3 separate regions of the Homo sapiens genome follow, and regions 2 and 3 are each linked to region 1. Evidence: promoter capture Hi-C in 16 types of primary human blood cells and fetal thymus (Javierre and others, 2016). All regions are on one chromosome and are shown on one strand. Each heading gives the region's core, a stretch centred on a gene start or on the middle of the fragment in contact. The rest is flanking DNA. Distances are from core to core; before and after follow the strand shown.

Evidence for each region. The method cuts DNA at HindIII sites, captures the fragments that hold promoters and counts their contacts. A CHiCAGO score of 5 or more calls a contact.
Region 2: a fragment that was not itself captured here is called in contact with the fragment with the promoter of MRPS18A in region 1 in 5 of 17 cell types (erythroblasts, monocytes, M0 macrophages and 2 more); the score reaches 10.6 in erythroblasts.
Region 3: a fragment that was not itself captured here is called in contact with the fragment with the promoter of MRPS18A in region 1 in 1 of 17 cell types (erythroblasts); the score reaches 6.2 in erythroblasts.

Annotation. Positions count from the first base shown.
Region 1 is chr6:43,685,568-43,690,464 of GRCh38, forward strand. It overlaps MRPS18A (mitochondrial ribosomal protein S18A), which reads right to left and starts at 2,224. Exons shown (of 6, transcript NM_018135.4): 1 at 2,101-2,224. The coding sequence starts at 2,212. LOC124901320 (a long non-coding RNA gene) reads left to right here and starts at 3,395. Exons shown (of 2, transcript XR_007059586.1): 1 at 3,395-3,772; 2 at 4,104-4,326. RefSeq lists enhancers at 1,978-2,037, 1,983-2,594. The HindIII fragment of the contact is 1,093 bases long and covers 1,427-2,519 here.
Region 2 is chr6:44,010,301-44,015,197 of GRCh38, forward strand. All of the region lies in intron 1 of SCIRT (stem cell inhibitory RNA transcript), which reads right to left. Among named protein-coding and RNA genes, the nearest start is that of LINC03040, 12 kb to the left of the region's middle. RefSeq lists an enhancer at 1-1,131 and a silencer at 222-420. The HindIII fragment of the contact is 3,154 bases long and covers 324-3,477 here.
Region 3 is chr6:43,985,107-43,990,003 of GRCh38, forward strand. No RefSeq gene overlaps it. Among named protein-coding and RNA genes, the nearest start is that of LINC03040, 13 kb to the right of the region's middle. RefSeq lists enhancers at 1-443, 4,850-4,897. The HindIII fragment of the contact is 5,894 bases long and covers 22-4,897 here.

The DNA of each region.
Region 1 (4,897 bases), core at 974-3,473:
TTTAGACTGAAAGTCTTCATAGACAGGAAAATTGGTGCTCAGTCCTCAAGAGCTGACTAAAATTATGTATTATTATCTGATACTTTGAAAAGTAGGATGCCTGAATATTTTCAGCAAGAGAACCAGCTTCTTTCCCACAACTTTAAATTCTATGTGTACAATATTGTTTGGGTGTCACATATACCAGCTGAGACTAGTCAAAATTAGCTATATGTATAATACTTTATGCCTTACACATAATGCATAGACTAGCAAAAGAAAATGTTTTCATTTACAAGCTTTGAAGATAGGTGATTCTTAAGAATATAGAATATGGTAGTGCCTTCATGTAGAATCATATTAATTCAACCTAACATTTAGATGAAGGACTTCAGAGACCCATTTGATTTACAGTCCATCCTTTTTTACTTTTTTTAAAGAGGTGGGCGTTCTCACTACGTTGCCCAGGTTAGACTCCAATTTCTGGGCTCAAGTGATCCTCCCACCTTGGCCTTCCAAAGTGCTGGGATTAAAGATATGTACCACTGTACCTGGCTTACAGTCCATCATTTCACAAACTCTCCAAAGGAAAAAATTAAGTCTAACTTCAAATATTTGTTGTTAAAACAAAACGATTCCTCTTGCCTTTTTTTCTGGAAGCATAGCAAAATCTGCCTCAACTTTGAATTTCATAAGAATATGCAAATTGTAGCCAATAGTGTTTGACACTTGGTAGACTCCCCAAAATGGTATGGAGATATGCCTATTTTGCAGCATGGGAACAAATGAAACATCCAAGTCCTCTCTATCATCTGCATGATTTCTTTAGTGTCTTTATTAATGGGTCTACTAATGGATAAGTTAATCAGGCAATATCCAGACTTTTTTTTCTAGCAAATGCTCCACTTCCCTTACGGGCTAAATTCTTCAAACATACTTACTATTTCCATCTCTTCATCAACTATCTCTTTCATTTCTCCAAACTGGATTCCTTGTTTGCCACTCTATTGAAATTGCTGTTTGAAAGCTACAAAGAGACCTCTTCTGAGACAAATCCAATGGCCCCTTCATTAGGCCCTTTTTAGACTTTTCTGCTCCCTCTGACAACAATGATCACTCTTTTCCACTGGATACTTCTCAGCTTTCGTTAAAGGATATGCTGCCCAATACTATGCCAGATCCTCAAAAAACCCCACATCTCTTCTTTTGCACATCACTCATCCTTTCCTGCTTCCAGGAGTACACAAAGGAAGGCTATGTCCTAAAAGACCGTTTCACTCTCCGCCAGATTCCATCCTTTTGTGAGCCTGCTCAAGACACATCCTCTTTATGAAAACTTCCAACTGGGTTTGCCGTTTCCAGTAACTGAGTCTCCCTGTACTTCGTCACGTAAAAGGCTAACTTGCATTTATTGGAGTGTGTATATACATAATCTCATTAGAACCTAAGCTTTTCAGAAAAAGGGCTGTATTTTCTGTCTCCAGAATTCCTTCACAGCTTGAAGCATAGCACTTGGCATTCAGTAAACTCTCAGTTGATGCTCGAATCAGGCCGCTTTCCCAGATTAAGATTAATGAAAAGCTGAACTACCATCCTGCATTTGCCTATGTCTCAGCTATTCAATGGCCTTTCCACTTTGGCCTCCCCCTCACAGGGAGACTAGCGGCCCGGGGCAGAGAACGCCGCCATCAGATCACAGCATTTTGAGAAGGGAAAGTGGAAAGGGAGGCTCTGGGAGGGTACCCAGATGGCCTTCCTTCGTGATCCAGAGACTCTTTAATAAAAGAGACTGCGATTCGGAGAACATGGAAGGAAGAATTAACATGCAAACCCTTTCCGAAAACTTTTCTGAGCCCTAGGACAGGTTTAGTGTCTGCTCCTGCTAAGTAAGCAGGCTTTTCTCTCCGTCCTCCTCCGCCTTGTGAAGATACTCACAAGGGGCAGGAGATCAAGATAAGGCACCAGGGTGTGGAAGGGGCTTTTAAGCACGCCTGGGGAGCCGGTACCTCCAAAGTTTCAGAATCGGACGAAGGAAAGGTAGGAAGGAGCGCACCGGGGCTGGCGGAAGCAGTCTCTGCCGCTCTTCTTAATTTCAGGAGGTTGCTGGGACGCATGACTCACCTTCCCTGAACCCGCGAGCTGGAAGCCGAGACCAGCTGGTCGCTGCCGGGCCCGCTAGTAGCCCACGGAGAAGCCGCCCACAGCCGGACACCAGAGCCTTGAGGGCCGCCATCTTCAAAAACCTACCCTGACCTCTCGTCCATTTCCGCTTCCGGAACGTAGCGCCCGCCGCCGCAGTGGTGGGGCAGGAACGGCGGGGCGGGGTTGTAGTTCGCTTGCTCCTGTCACATCATTTCTCTCACCTGTCCGCTTTGGGATACGAAGAGAGGCTTCTGCGTCAAGCCTATATTTCGTGTTAAGGATCTAGGGGAGGTCTTCTAGCTCCTGTCTGCCAATGCCTACAAGTCTTCAAGGTTGCATTCGTTTCCTGGAAGGCTTCCTTAGGAAAATCGCACGCAACACCCCACCTATGTCTTTAAAGCTTTCTCTTCACTGCACGTGAGCTGTGGACTTTTAGCTTCTGTGACTGGGGCTAGACCTCTACGGGAGAGGCTGAAATGGTTAGGAACTCTGGCTCTGGAGTATCGGATATCAGGCAGACCTGGGATAGAATTGATACCCCCTTCTTCCCTGACCACTGCCACACTGATCTTTGATTTGCATATACTTAGACCTCTCTCTAGCCCCAGGGCCTTGATACAAGCTATTTCCTTTGTCTGCTCTTTAGCTGTCTAGTTAGCTTCTGCTTATTTCTTAGAGCTCACCTCAAACCTTATTTCCACAGTTTTGCTTGACTGCCCATTCTCAGCACCAGATGCCTCTCCATCTTAGTGCTTGGGACAATTTCAGTTTTATGTTTGTTTTGTATGTGTCTTCTCACCAGACTGTAAGCTCCATGAAGTCAGGAACATTGTTTTCTGTTGACTCGCACATCTCCAGCACTTAGAATAGTTCCTGACACATAATAAGAGTACAATATATACTTGTTGAATGAATGAGTAGAATCTATTTTATAGGGCCTAGGGGAGGACTAGACCCTGAAGATTAGATGTGATAAAACATAAGTGATCGGCCGGGTGTGGTGGCTCATGCCTGTAATCCCAGCACTTTGGGAGGCTGAGGCGGGTGGATTACCTGAGGTCAGGAGTTCAAGACCAGCCTGACCAACATGGTGAAACCCTATCTACTAAAAATACAAAAATTAGGTGGGTGTGGTGGCGGGCACCTGTAATCCCAGACACTTGGGAGGCTGAGGCAGGAGAATCGCTTGAACCCAGGAGGCGGAGGTTGCAGTGAGCCAAGATCACACCATTGCACTCCAGCCTGGGCGACAAGAGTGAAACTCCGTCTCAAAAACAAAACAAAACAAAACAAAACAAAACAAAAGGGCTCAATAAACATAAGCTAGTTAATAGAGCAGTTATGGAGATGACTCTTTTCACAAGTTGGACTCACTTGTGTTGTAAGGAAGCTTATGGTACCAAAGAGAAAATACAACTGCCAGTTTTTCCTCTTTCAGATTTGTGAGACGTATAGGATGTTCCTCTGGAGCTCCACAGGAAAGGAAAATCATTCACAACTCAGTTCTTCCTATCCTTCTCTGATTCAAGATGGGAAAATCAGGCTTATTAAATGACATAGCATGTTTTCTGATGAGTAGGAGAGGAGCCCATCATCCAGTTGGGACCGTCACCCTAATAGGAGGATGCAGAGCAGCTGCTGTATGGAAAATGTGAGTGGCATCACCATAGACAGGGAGAACAGGAGAAATGCAGCATTGGGTTACGTTAAAACATCTCATTTAGCAAAGGTAAACCCGGTGAAGGGGAAACTTAAAAGAAAAGTCAATCAAGGTGGTAGAGACTGACACATGGATTAGGAGTGAAGCAGAGGGTCTTAGTGAGGTGTAGGTCTAGGTGTCCCAGCCAGGATCAAGAAAGCTTTGACTCTCCCTATAGCTTCCAAGTTTGTTCTGCATAGATGACCTTGAGCTTATAGATGTATAGATGACCTTTTGTGTTTGTACTACATCCTCTGTTTCTTCACCCATTTCCAACTTCCAGGAATCCAGTAGAGACAAGGGCAGCAACAGAGCCCCACCCAGGGCTTGCTTTGGACACAGTGAGCTAAAGCATTCGAGTGCCAACCCTCTTCTCATTATCTTATCTTAACTTATCATAAACAAATTTTATTTTAAAAAACAACTATGACAGGTAACATGTGATCATTGTAGAAAAATGAAACAATAAATAAAGTAAAAAGAAAATAAATGTCATCTAAAATCCAGAGATAAGCATTGTTTACATTTAGCAAGATGAAATAATACTGTGGATATTCTTTGCCTTATAATATCTTATTTTTCTGAATCCATTTATGATTAGTCCCTACAATTCTGTGAGACCAGGTTTGGATCAGGAGACTAGCTTTAAAAAACAACACATCTTTTAATTAAAGTATTACCTGTGTAAGAAAAATACACAGGCTGGGTACAATGGCTCACGCCTGTAATCCCAGCACTTTGGGAGGCCGAGGCAGGTGGATCACTTAAGGTCAGGAGTTCGAGACCAGCCTGGCCAACATGGTGAAACCTCATCTCTGCTAAAAATACAAAAATTAGCTGGGCGTGGTAGGCTCCTGTAATCTCAGTTCCTCAGGAGGCTGAGGCAGGAGAATCACCTGAACCCTGCAGGTGGAGGTTGCGGTGAGCCGAGATCACGCCATTGCACTCCAGCCTGGGCAACAGAGTGAGACTGTCTCAAAAAAAAAAACAAAAAACCCAAACAAACAAACAAACAAAAAACAACAAAACACACAAATCATCAGTGTACTGCTTGATGAATTTTCGCAAAGGGACACA
Region 2 (4,897 bases), core at 651-3,150, 320 kb after region 1:
AAGCGTCTTGAGAGAAGCTCAGCCCTGACTCCGCTCCCCATACCTTCTCAGCTTTCTCAAGGAGGTAACTTTCTAGAACCCCCTTTGGGCCACTTTCCCAGGGGTGACCCTTTGGCACACGTCTGTCCTGAGGTCGTGGCCTGTCTGGCAGCCTCCTCCTCAGGGTTAGGAGTGGGGTTGGCACCTGGCCATCCTGCAGAGGGCAGGGGTAGGTGCTTCAACAGCCCCAGCTCTGGGACATGTGCAGGTGCCCTAGTTCCAAGCCCCCACTGGCAGGTTCAGAAGACTGAGACACATGGCCAGGCCCTGACCCCTTGCCTGCAAGCTTCCTAAGAGCAGGGATCATCTCTTACCTGCCTCGGTCTCTCAGTGCTGGCACAGCATGGCTACTCAGTGTATGTGAGCTGAGTGGCAGAGTGCCAGGGCTGGCAGAGCTGCCATGAAAAGGGGTGCTGTGCTCAGGGAGATGGAGATGGGGTGCCTTCCTAGTAGGGTGCAGTAGCACTAGGCAGGGACTAGGAAGAGCATGCAAGTCCCCTGGGCCCCCTAAGGCCAGCACCGGGTCAGACTTGTCTTCTCTCCATGTTCAGGGTCTGCCCTGTCTCCAGCAGCCCCACTGTGGCTGGTGACCTGTCAGTGACTCACAGCCAGCTGTGGGCACAGAGTGGAGAAAGTGGCCTCCAGCTGAGCTCATGCACTAGCAATTAGCCCTCTACACCTCCTCACCATGGAGAGCCTCCCAGCTTCCACGCACGCACGTCCCAGGCTGCCCTTTCCCAACCGCAGCGTGGCTCTTGTGCTTATTTTAGCCTGATGAAGCCTCTTGAAATGTCAGAGCTGCAACCAACCAAGCTAGGGACCATCCAGTTGAATCCTTTCATTCAACCAGGGAGAAAATGGGGATTCAGAGAGGGAGTGAGAGATGCGCTTCAGGTCACACAGCTAATTGGTTGTGCAGCCAGAAATGAACTGCAGGCTTCCGGAGCCCAGATCCAGCTGTCCTTAACTCTAGGGGGCAATGTGCTTCAGGTAGCCCCTCACCAGACTTCTGGAGCCACTGGAGCCAGCACACATGTGTTTGAATCCTTCTTGGCCACTTGTCAGCTGTGAGACTATGGGCAAGTTACTCAGCATCTCCAGGCTTCTGTTTCTCCACCTGTAAAATGAGGATAACAGAGGCATGTCCCTCCCAGGTTGGTGTGAGGAATGAATGAGTTCATATATCTGAACTGCTAAAAGCAGTGCCAAGCACATAGCACACACTCAAAACACATTAGCTGACATTGTGTAGTCACCAAGACTTGGTCTCTGGTGTGGAAAGTTTAAAAATTCAGTTTTATGTGTTTGTCCATGGGTGAGCAGATTCTGGGACACCAGCCATATAACCAGACTTCTGGAAAACTGGTGGTGCTACTGTGGGGACAGGTGTTGCTGTCAGAAAGATCCACAGTAGACACAGAAACTGCCTTCCACTTTGGCAGTCACCATCTGAGACCCACAGATTGCAGACATCGAGGCAAAGGCAGTTTGGAGATTCTCAGGGCTATTCAAGCTCGGTGAGCCTGAAGAAGTGCCCTTCTGAACTCAAGAACTGGGCCTCTGTTTGTTAATCTGAAAAATAGGGGAAATCATAGCCTTGGGCTCACTGGGTGGTTGCAGGCATTAGATCAGGTGGGACAGTACCTGAAATAATCCTTTCTAGCCTTCCTCCTCCCTCTTTCTTTGTCACGACCCCCATCATCTGCTTGAGGCCAGTTCTCTCGATTCAGAGCTGCCTCCCCACTGGGCCCAGTTGGATAAACACTGACAAATTCTTCCCCTTCCAAGTTCCTCTTTTCCCAGTCACCAAATCTCTGATACCTCACACCAGATGAGTTATGGTCCCAGAACATGTACAAGATTGGGGTGTTCTCATTCCAACCCTGGAGATCCTTGTTGAATGGATGACTCAGTGAATCAACAACTGCAACGATTCCCAGAACTTCCTGAAAACTCACTCTGAGCTCTTAACATTGGGCAACACTCTGGTTTCCCCCAGAGCCCCACCACAAACCACCTCTGAGGAGAGGCGGCTCTGCAGTTGCCTCATCACTCTTTGCTGCCCTTCATCATGCTCATTTACACGAGAACTTTCTCTGCCCTTACTTCTCCACCACCCAGTCTGGACAACCAGGTGTGTTTGCATTCTCCCCTGCAGGAGGGCAACACAACCGTTCTGCTGTCCATAACCACTGCTGGCATGCCTAGTGGTCAGTCTTGAGCCCTCTCCATCTGCCCAAGTCACAACTGTCCCCCTACCCACCCCACCCAACTTCCTATGATTGCCTGCATAGGACAACTGACTCTTCTTGCTTGCTATTCCAGCTCCACTAATAGCCCATGACCCCCTCTTAGCCCCAGCCAGCCCCACCTGTAGAGTCCTGCTACGAGTGAGCCATTCCTCCCCAGGGGCATCACCTACTCGCTGCATTCTGTTCTTCAGGACAGACTGGAGCTCCCCAGACGAGAAGGCCTAAAGGGCTGGGAGCGGTGGCTCACTCCTGTAATCCCAGCATTTTGGAGGCCAAGGCGGGTGGATCACCTGAGGTCAGGAGTTCAAGACCAGCCTGGCCAACATGGCGAAACCCCGTCTCTACCAAAAAAATACAAAAATTAGCCAGGTGTATTGGTGGCGCCTGTAGTCCCAGCTACTCGGGTGGCTGAGGCGGGAGAATTGCTTGAACCCAGGAGGTGGAGGTTGCAGTGAGCCGAGATCACGCCACTGTACTCCAGCCTGGGCGACACAGCGAGACTCCATCTCAAAAAAAAGAAGGCCTGAGCCATTTGAGAGTTCATGCCCCTTTGAAGGCTGGGAATCTGAACACTAGTTCTGCCCTCAGGAGCCAGGATATGGCCTGGGCATCATCTCCAGCTTGGTTCCAGCTTATTCCCCACCATTGGCCCGCTGTCCAGCCCTCTGCATGTTTCTGGGCCACCAGTGGTCCCTACACGCCAACCAGAGGATTCCAAGAGTATCTCACCTGGAAGATCCTAAGGAATCACCCAGTCTAGTGGAGATGGTCTCTAGAGTGTTTGAAAATGTTTTGGAGTCTTTTTCATTGTAATAGTGATTAGAGATGTTCTGGCATTGGGTGCCCCAGGCCGGGCATGCTAGATCCCACAATGGACAAGGCAGTTTGCATAGTGAAGCATTGCACCCCTATTCTCCTTGGAGAAACACCACTTCTAGTCCAAAGTACTTCTTGTACAGTTGTAGAAACTAAGAGCCAGGGAGGATAAGGTACTGGCCCAAGACTAAGCAGCAAATTTGTCTCATAGGTATTCTAATAATGAGGATCCAAGAGTTCTGTTTCTTGGTGATTTCAATGGTATCTAGCCTCAAAATCCACTAGCAGTCACCAAGTTTGGGGCATGATGGGAGAGATGAAGACTAACGTGAGTCATTGGGAAGACTTTGTAGAGGTGTCATTTGGGCTAAGCTTTGAAGGATGACTTGTGGACCTGTCACTCTCGAAAGTGGGAGAGGGCACAACAGACAAAATGGTCAATAGTGGGGAAAGGACTAGAGCCTAGGAGTGAAGGTGGCTGAGGAATGAGCACAGGCTTTGGAAAGGAGAGCAGTGGAAGATGGAGGATGAAAGGAAGGTGACCTGAGGCTAGATCACAGAGGACTTTGCGTGTCAAATTGAGTATTGGGGTTGGTTCCAGGACCCCTGCGGATACCAAAATCTTGGAATGCTAAAGTTCCTTATATATAATAATGTAGTATTTGCATATAACCTATGCACATCCTCCTATACACTTTAAATCATCTCTAGATTACTTATAATATCTAATACAATGTAAATGCCATATCAATAGTTATTATGCTGTACTGTTTTTATTTGTATTATTCTTATTTTGCATTATTTTTTGTTGTTTTTTCCTCAAATATTTTTGATTTCCAGTTGGTTGAATCTACAGATATGAAACCCACAGATATAGAGGGCCAGCTGTATTTTGAGGCCAAGTTATCAGGTGCATACAAATGTAGAATTATTACATCTTCATGGAAAATTGAACATTATATCATTGTGAAATGTCTGTATATCTAGCAATGCTCTTTGCTTTAAAATCTGTTTAGTCTGATTTTAACATAGCTGCACTAGCTTTTTGTTTTTGTTAGTGTTACATGTTTTATCTTTGACTTTTACTTTATCTCTATATTTCAGGTACATCTATGTACAGGGTGTAGCTGGATTTGGATTCTTTTTTCTTTTTATGAGACAGGGTCTTACTCTGTTGCCCAGGCTGAAGTGCAATGGCATGATCACACCTCTCTACATGCTCACTGCTCACAACAGGCATGCATCACCACGCCCAGATAATTTTTGTATTTTTTGTAGAGATGGGTTTTCTCTATGTTGCCCAGGCTGGTCTGTAGCTCCTGGGCTCAAGTGATCCTCTCACCTTGGCCTCCCAAAGTGCTGAGATTATAGGCATGAGCCACTGTGCCAGATTTGGGTTCTTATCCAAAATAAGTCTGAAAATCCTTGCCTTTTAATGGGAAAAAATAGTCATTTTATATACGATGGAATTACTGTTTATTTGGACTTAAACCAATACTAAGTGCTATGTGTGCTACTTACCTATGCTCCTTTTTCTCTCCTTTCTTTGCCTTCTGTTGGAATTATTTTATTTAATTATCCCCCTTTTAAAATGTGGAAGTTATTCACTTTTTTATAATTTTTTAGTAGCCACCCAGAGATTACAGCATGCCTTTTTAACAAATCCTAATGTTAATAGATTCTTTTACTCTCCCCAAAATAAATGCAAGAACCTTAAAAACCTTAACTCTTCCCAAACACCATTATTATTATTATTTATATGTAGCATATATTTGCTATTTATCCACATG
Region 3 (4,897 bases), core at 1,719-4,218, 300 kb after region 1:
CCCATGGGCTGGGGCAGGCGAAGCTTCCAGCCTGCCTCATGGCCACCTGCAACCAGAACCGCCCCATTCCCCAGCTGGCCAGACTCCCATCTCCTGGGGGATCCTCACCTGCCCCCACCCCATGCTTGCTCCCCATGGGATTCTCTGTGGACTCCCCCATCATAGTCTTCTGCCCTGGCACCTCTGTGGCCTGCTAAGGGGGAGGCCACCCCACCAGGCAGAGAAGGCACTGGAGAGAGCTGCGAGAGGAGGGAAGAGGGCTAGGCTACCCACCTCCAGGACTCTCTCATGAAGGCAGAGCCACTGATGGGAACCAAGCACCTGCCTTGGCTTCTAAGGTGAGTGGAAAATTCCCTTAGCGCCTCTGCACCAGTGTTTTCCCCTCACCTCTATTGCCATTGTGGATCTGTCAACAAATATAGAGTCTGTCAGTGTTTGCAGAGCCTACCAGCATTTGCAGAGCCTGCCTGGTCACAAAGCCTATTGTTATTTGCTGAGATAGTTTCTTTCATTGCTCCAGGAGGCCCCACCCACTGCACAATGGTGACCAGTAAAGTTTCCTCTCTCCCTCACCCCTACCCTGCCCCACACTCCTCCCTGAGGTCTCCCCAAGTATCCACAAGGCATTTCCCCAAAGGCCCTGAGACTTAGACCTACAGACACCCCACAGCAAATCCACACACTCCCCATTGGACCTTCACTCATGAGCCCTGTATAAGCCAAGGTGTGGGGGGCCAGATGGGGCTCCAACCCCAAGAAAACAGAGAGGCCACCCCCTCCTGAGCTCAGGCCTGAAGGAAAGCATAATTTGAAGCCAAGCGGAAATGGACCTCTGTCATTTTGTAGCTATGGCATTTGGGCATCCACTCGAGTTTCTGAGTCTCAGTTTCCTCATCTATAAAACAGGGATGCATCAAGGCATATGGCTGAGGTAAGCTCAGCTGAAAGAAGACGGAGAGTCAATTGGCTGCCAGTGACACATCTAGTTGTGCCAGGCATGGGGCTCAGTTCATCCACAAAAAATCTTCCAAGAGGTGAAAGAAACCCCAGGCTTTCCTGATATTCGCTCTGAGAGGTGAAAATAAGTCTATATGAGTCTGAGCAGGGACTCAGCTCACCCTGATCCTGACAGGGCAGAAATGTGTCAGGAACTTGGAGAGGGCTGATGTGGGAGCCCTCAGCCATTAACCCTTCTCCTCTGGCCATTCTCAATGTTGCTTTGACAGTGAGTGCAGGCGGAGGGATAGCTCTCCCTTACTGACTGTGAGCATGCTGAGGAAGGGGCTGTGTGTTCCCCTCAGACTGGGGCTCCCTGAGGATGGGGCCAAGTCTCTCCTCAGACTGGGGTTCCCTAAGGATGGGGCTGCGTCTCCCCTCAGACTGGAGATCCCTGAGGACAGGCCATGTCTCCCTTCTGAGACTGAGGCTCCGTTTGCTCTCAGCCCCTAGGCTCTCCAGCTGTACTCCTGTCTCACGGAACAACCACCCAAGAGAACAGAGTGATAGGGTCTGCTGAGCAGAAGTGCACAGGGCAGGTTGCGGGTACTCCTGAGGAGGGACGTGCTGATAAAGGGTAATCTCCCTGAGCACTTGGCTCAGGATAGCAAAGGCTGCAATCAGAGGGTTCTGTTTCGAGCTTCCAGCCAACTGTCTCTATCAAGTGCCTGCTGTGTGCAAACCCACTGACAGGTACTTTGGGAGGACCAAGAGGACTTATGCATGGTGTTTGAGCTCTTGGGAGAGAGGCTGATGCCTGGTAGGGGATGCACAGACACTCAGGGCTCCTGGGAGAAGAAAGGGAGTGAGTTCCTCAGTCAGGCAGCCTTCTCAAAGGAGACCCTGTTAGGGTCCAGTTTAGGGCAGCGGTCAGTGGCTTTGGAGCTTTGGGCCTGGGGGAGCTCCTGAAGACCCTTTTCCCATCCTGCCACCTCTCCCCCTCCCATGCTTATCTGGCAACCTTGCTCCATGTTTTCCCTGGAACATGTTCTTCCTGCTCCCCTCAGCCCCTACTCAAGGTTAAGCCCTCTCTTTTGCTTCTGCCCAGCAAGTCCAAGGCTGGGTACTAGGGCGCAGGGGAAGGAGCTTGCTCAAGAGCCCGTGGAGGGCCCCTTGGGAGCCACCTCCTGGCTCCTGAGCCTAGGAGTGTCTAGGAGCATCTTACAAGAAGTGTAGATGATGAGGTGTTCTAGAGAAGGAAGGGGGAGCCCAGGAGGAAGCTGTCTCTTCCATCTTCTGCCTCCATGCCCAAATCCTTTAGAGGGAGCAGGTTCTGTAACCCATCCAGCAGTGGGCTCTCACCAAATTGTTCCATTTCCTCTCCCCTCTTAGTAAGGTGAAACCAACTCATTCTCTTCTCAGCCCTGCCCTGGGTTCTGGAGCAATGAGGAACTGGGGATCCTCAGTTGGGGCTCCCCACTCAGCCCAGCAGGGCAGAATGGGCCCTGAGGGGCAATGATGATAGGGAAGGTGAATGTGACCCATCCTCACAGATCCCCAGTCCAAGGGGAGACGCAGCCCCATCCTCAGGGAGCCCCAGTCTGAGGGGAGACACAGACCCATCCTCAGTGAGCCTCAGTCTGAGGGAGACACAGCCCTGTTCTCATGGGGCCCCAGACTGAGGGGAGACTCAGCTCTGCCCCTTCAGGGCTGGTCTGACTTGACCTTCAACGTCTCAATCCCTATTCAGGGAGTGATGACCAAGAGGTCACCTGAGCCACCTCCTGTCTTAAGTCAGGGTCCTTTCACTCACCCCATGAACTGAGGACAGAACAGGCATGGGACAGGAAGGAGGCCTAGAGACCCCTGATCTAACTGGCCACTGCTTGGCAGGCCCCTTTGTTGTCACCTGTGGGTCCCCAGACTCTCCCAACATCCTGCGAAATAGCATTTCTCTCCATTTAGGAGTGACCCCCGGGAATGGCCTTGCCCTGTCCCGTCAACCCCTTCCCTTGCCCCAGACACTGATAGTGGCTGAAAAGCAGGCCCATGGGGTGAGGGAGTAAGGGAATCCTGATAAGCTGACCTTCCTCAGCTCCTGTTTTGGCTGAGGCAGGCTGGTGGGCTGTTTGGTCTGGTGGGCCCATGGTGGAGAGGGTCCCCTGTGAGGTAGGGGGTCGCAGGCTCAAGGTCTCACTGGGTTGAGACAGCCCATACCTTGACAGGAAGGCCAGGCATGAGAGCCCTGCTGAGGTTCCTTCCGCCAGGACATGGCCCCTCTCTGGCCCATCAGGACATCCACCTCACTCCATGGTCACCACCCCAGGAGATAAGGGGCTCCCCTGAGCCTCCCTCACAGCTTCTAGCACCCCACAGGGTCCCTCGGGTCCCCGTCACTCTCCTGTCCAGAAACCTTGCCCCAGCAAGGAAAAGAGGAGAAGGTAAGAGTTGCGTCCCCACAGGAAACTGAGGCACAGAGACTGGCAGAGACCTCCCCAAACCCCATCTGCCCACTCCTCAATGGTAGTGTGGTAGAGTGATAAAAATCTGGGGGACCGATTGGGGGAATTGAACATGAGCTGCATATTAGATATTGCAAACTGTTTTGTTCAATGTAAGAATGGCATGCTGGTTTATATAGAAAATTTGGTTTATTTTTTAGAGATGCATTCTTAAATGAGTAGAGGTGACATGCTATATGTCTATAATTTACTTTTTAATATTTCAGCACAGAAAAGATGAAGCAAATCTGGCAAACAAAATGTTCATTATGCTATTCTGGTAATCGGTACTTGTAGTTTCGTTGTACTGCTCTCTCCATTTGTCTGAATGTTTAAAATTTCTCATTAAAAAAAGACAAATGCTGTTCTAACCTAGGTTTGAATACCAATTCGACTTCTTTGCTGTGTGACCTTAGGCAAGTCACTTAACCTCTCTGGGCCCCATTCTCTTTAAACACCACTGTTGTGATGTTTAAACACAGTAATGGATGGGGTGCACTAGTACAGTGCCTCAGACATAGTAAGTGCTCAGTTAAAAATGGTTGTTTTTTGTAGCCTGGGAAAGTAGCTCATGTCTGTAATCCCAGCACTTTAGGAAGCCAAGGCAGGAGGATCTCTTGAAGCCAGGAGTTTGAGATCAGCCTAGGCAACATAGCAAGACCCCATTTCTACAAAAGATAAAAAATTAAAATAATAGAAAAGGGTCATTATTTGTGAAATGAATGGAAAAGGTGTCTGTGCCTGTGTGTGTGTGTGTGTGTGTGTGTGTGTGTGTGTGTGTGTGTGTTAGAAGGAGTGTCTTCTCAAACTCTCAGCCTCAGTTTCTCAGCCCTCAGGAAGCAGTAGTTAATTACTTGGGTCAACAGCCACACCCTCAGTCCCTACTCCATGTCACGGGCTGTGATGGGTGCTGGCAAAGGGGAAGGATTTGGGGTGCAGGGCCCCTCTTCACAGGACCAGTGGACACTGGTTCCTTAGAAGGAACACTGAAGTTAGTGGAGCCCCTCCTCATTTTGCATCCAGCCTAGGAACAGAGCAACTCCGTCTGGCCACGTGCAGTCGCCAGCTTTGGGGACAGGCAGAGCTGAGGGGCTGCCCCCTCAACACCCCACACAAAGGAGCAGAGCAGTGAAAGCCCCGTCCCGAGGACAAGGGCAGTGGGGCATGTGCCGGTAACGGGAGAAGGCCAGCCCTTTCTTATTTTGGGAGGCAGGAGGCAGCAGGTGGCTGGCTGGTGCTGGGACATGTGAACCCTCCTGTCGGGGGCCATGTGGTCAGCAGCAGGGCAGCCTGGCAGTGCCGGGCTCAGCCTAGGCCCCACATGAGCCCATCAGCCAGACACATTTGTGGCCACAGAGGGAGGGAGATCCAGTTTCTCCACAAGGGCATCCTCTGTAGCACAGCTTGGAAGTGGGGGAAAGGACACCTGGCACCTGCCCCACCCCCATATTCCCCAAGGA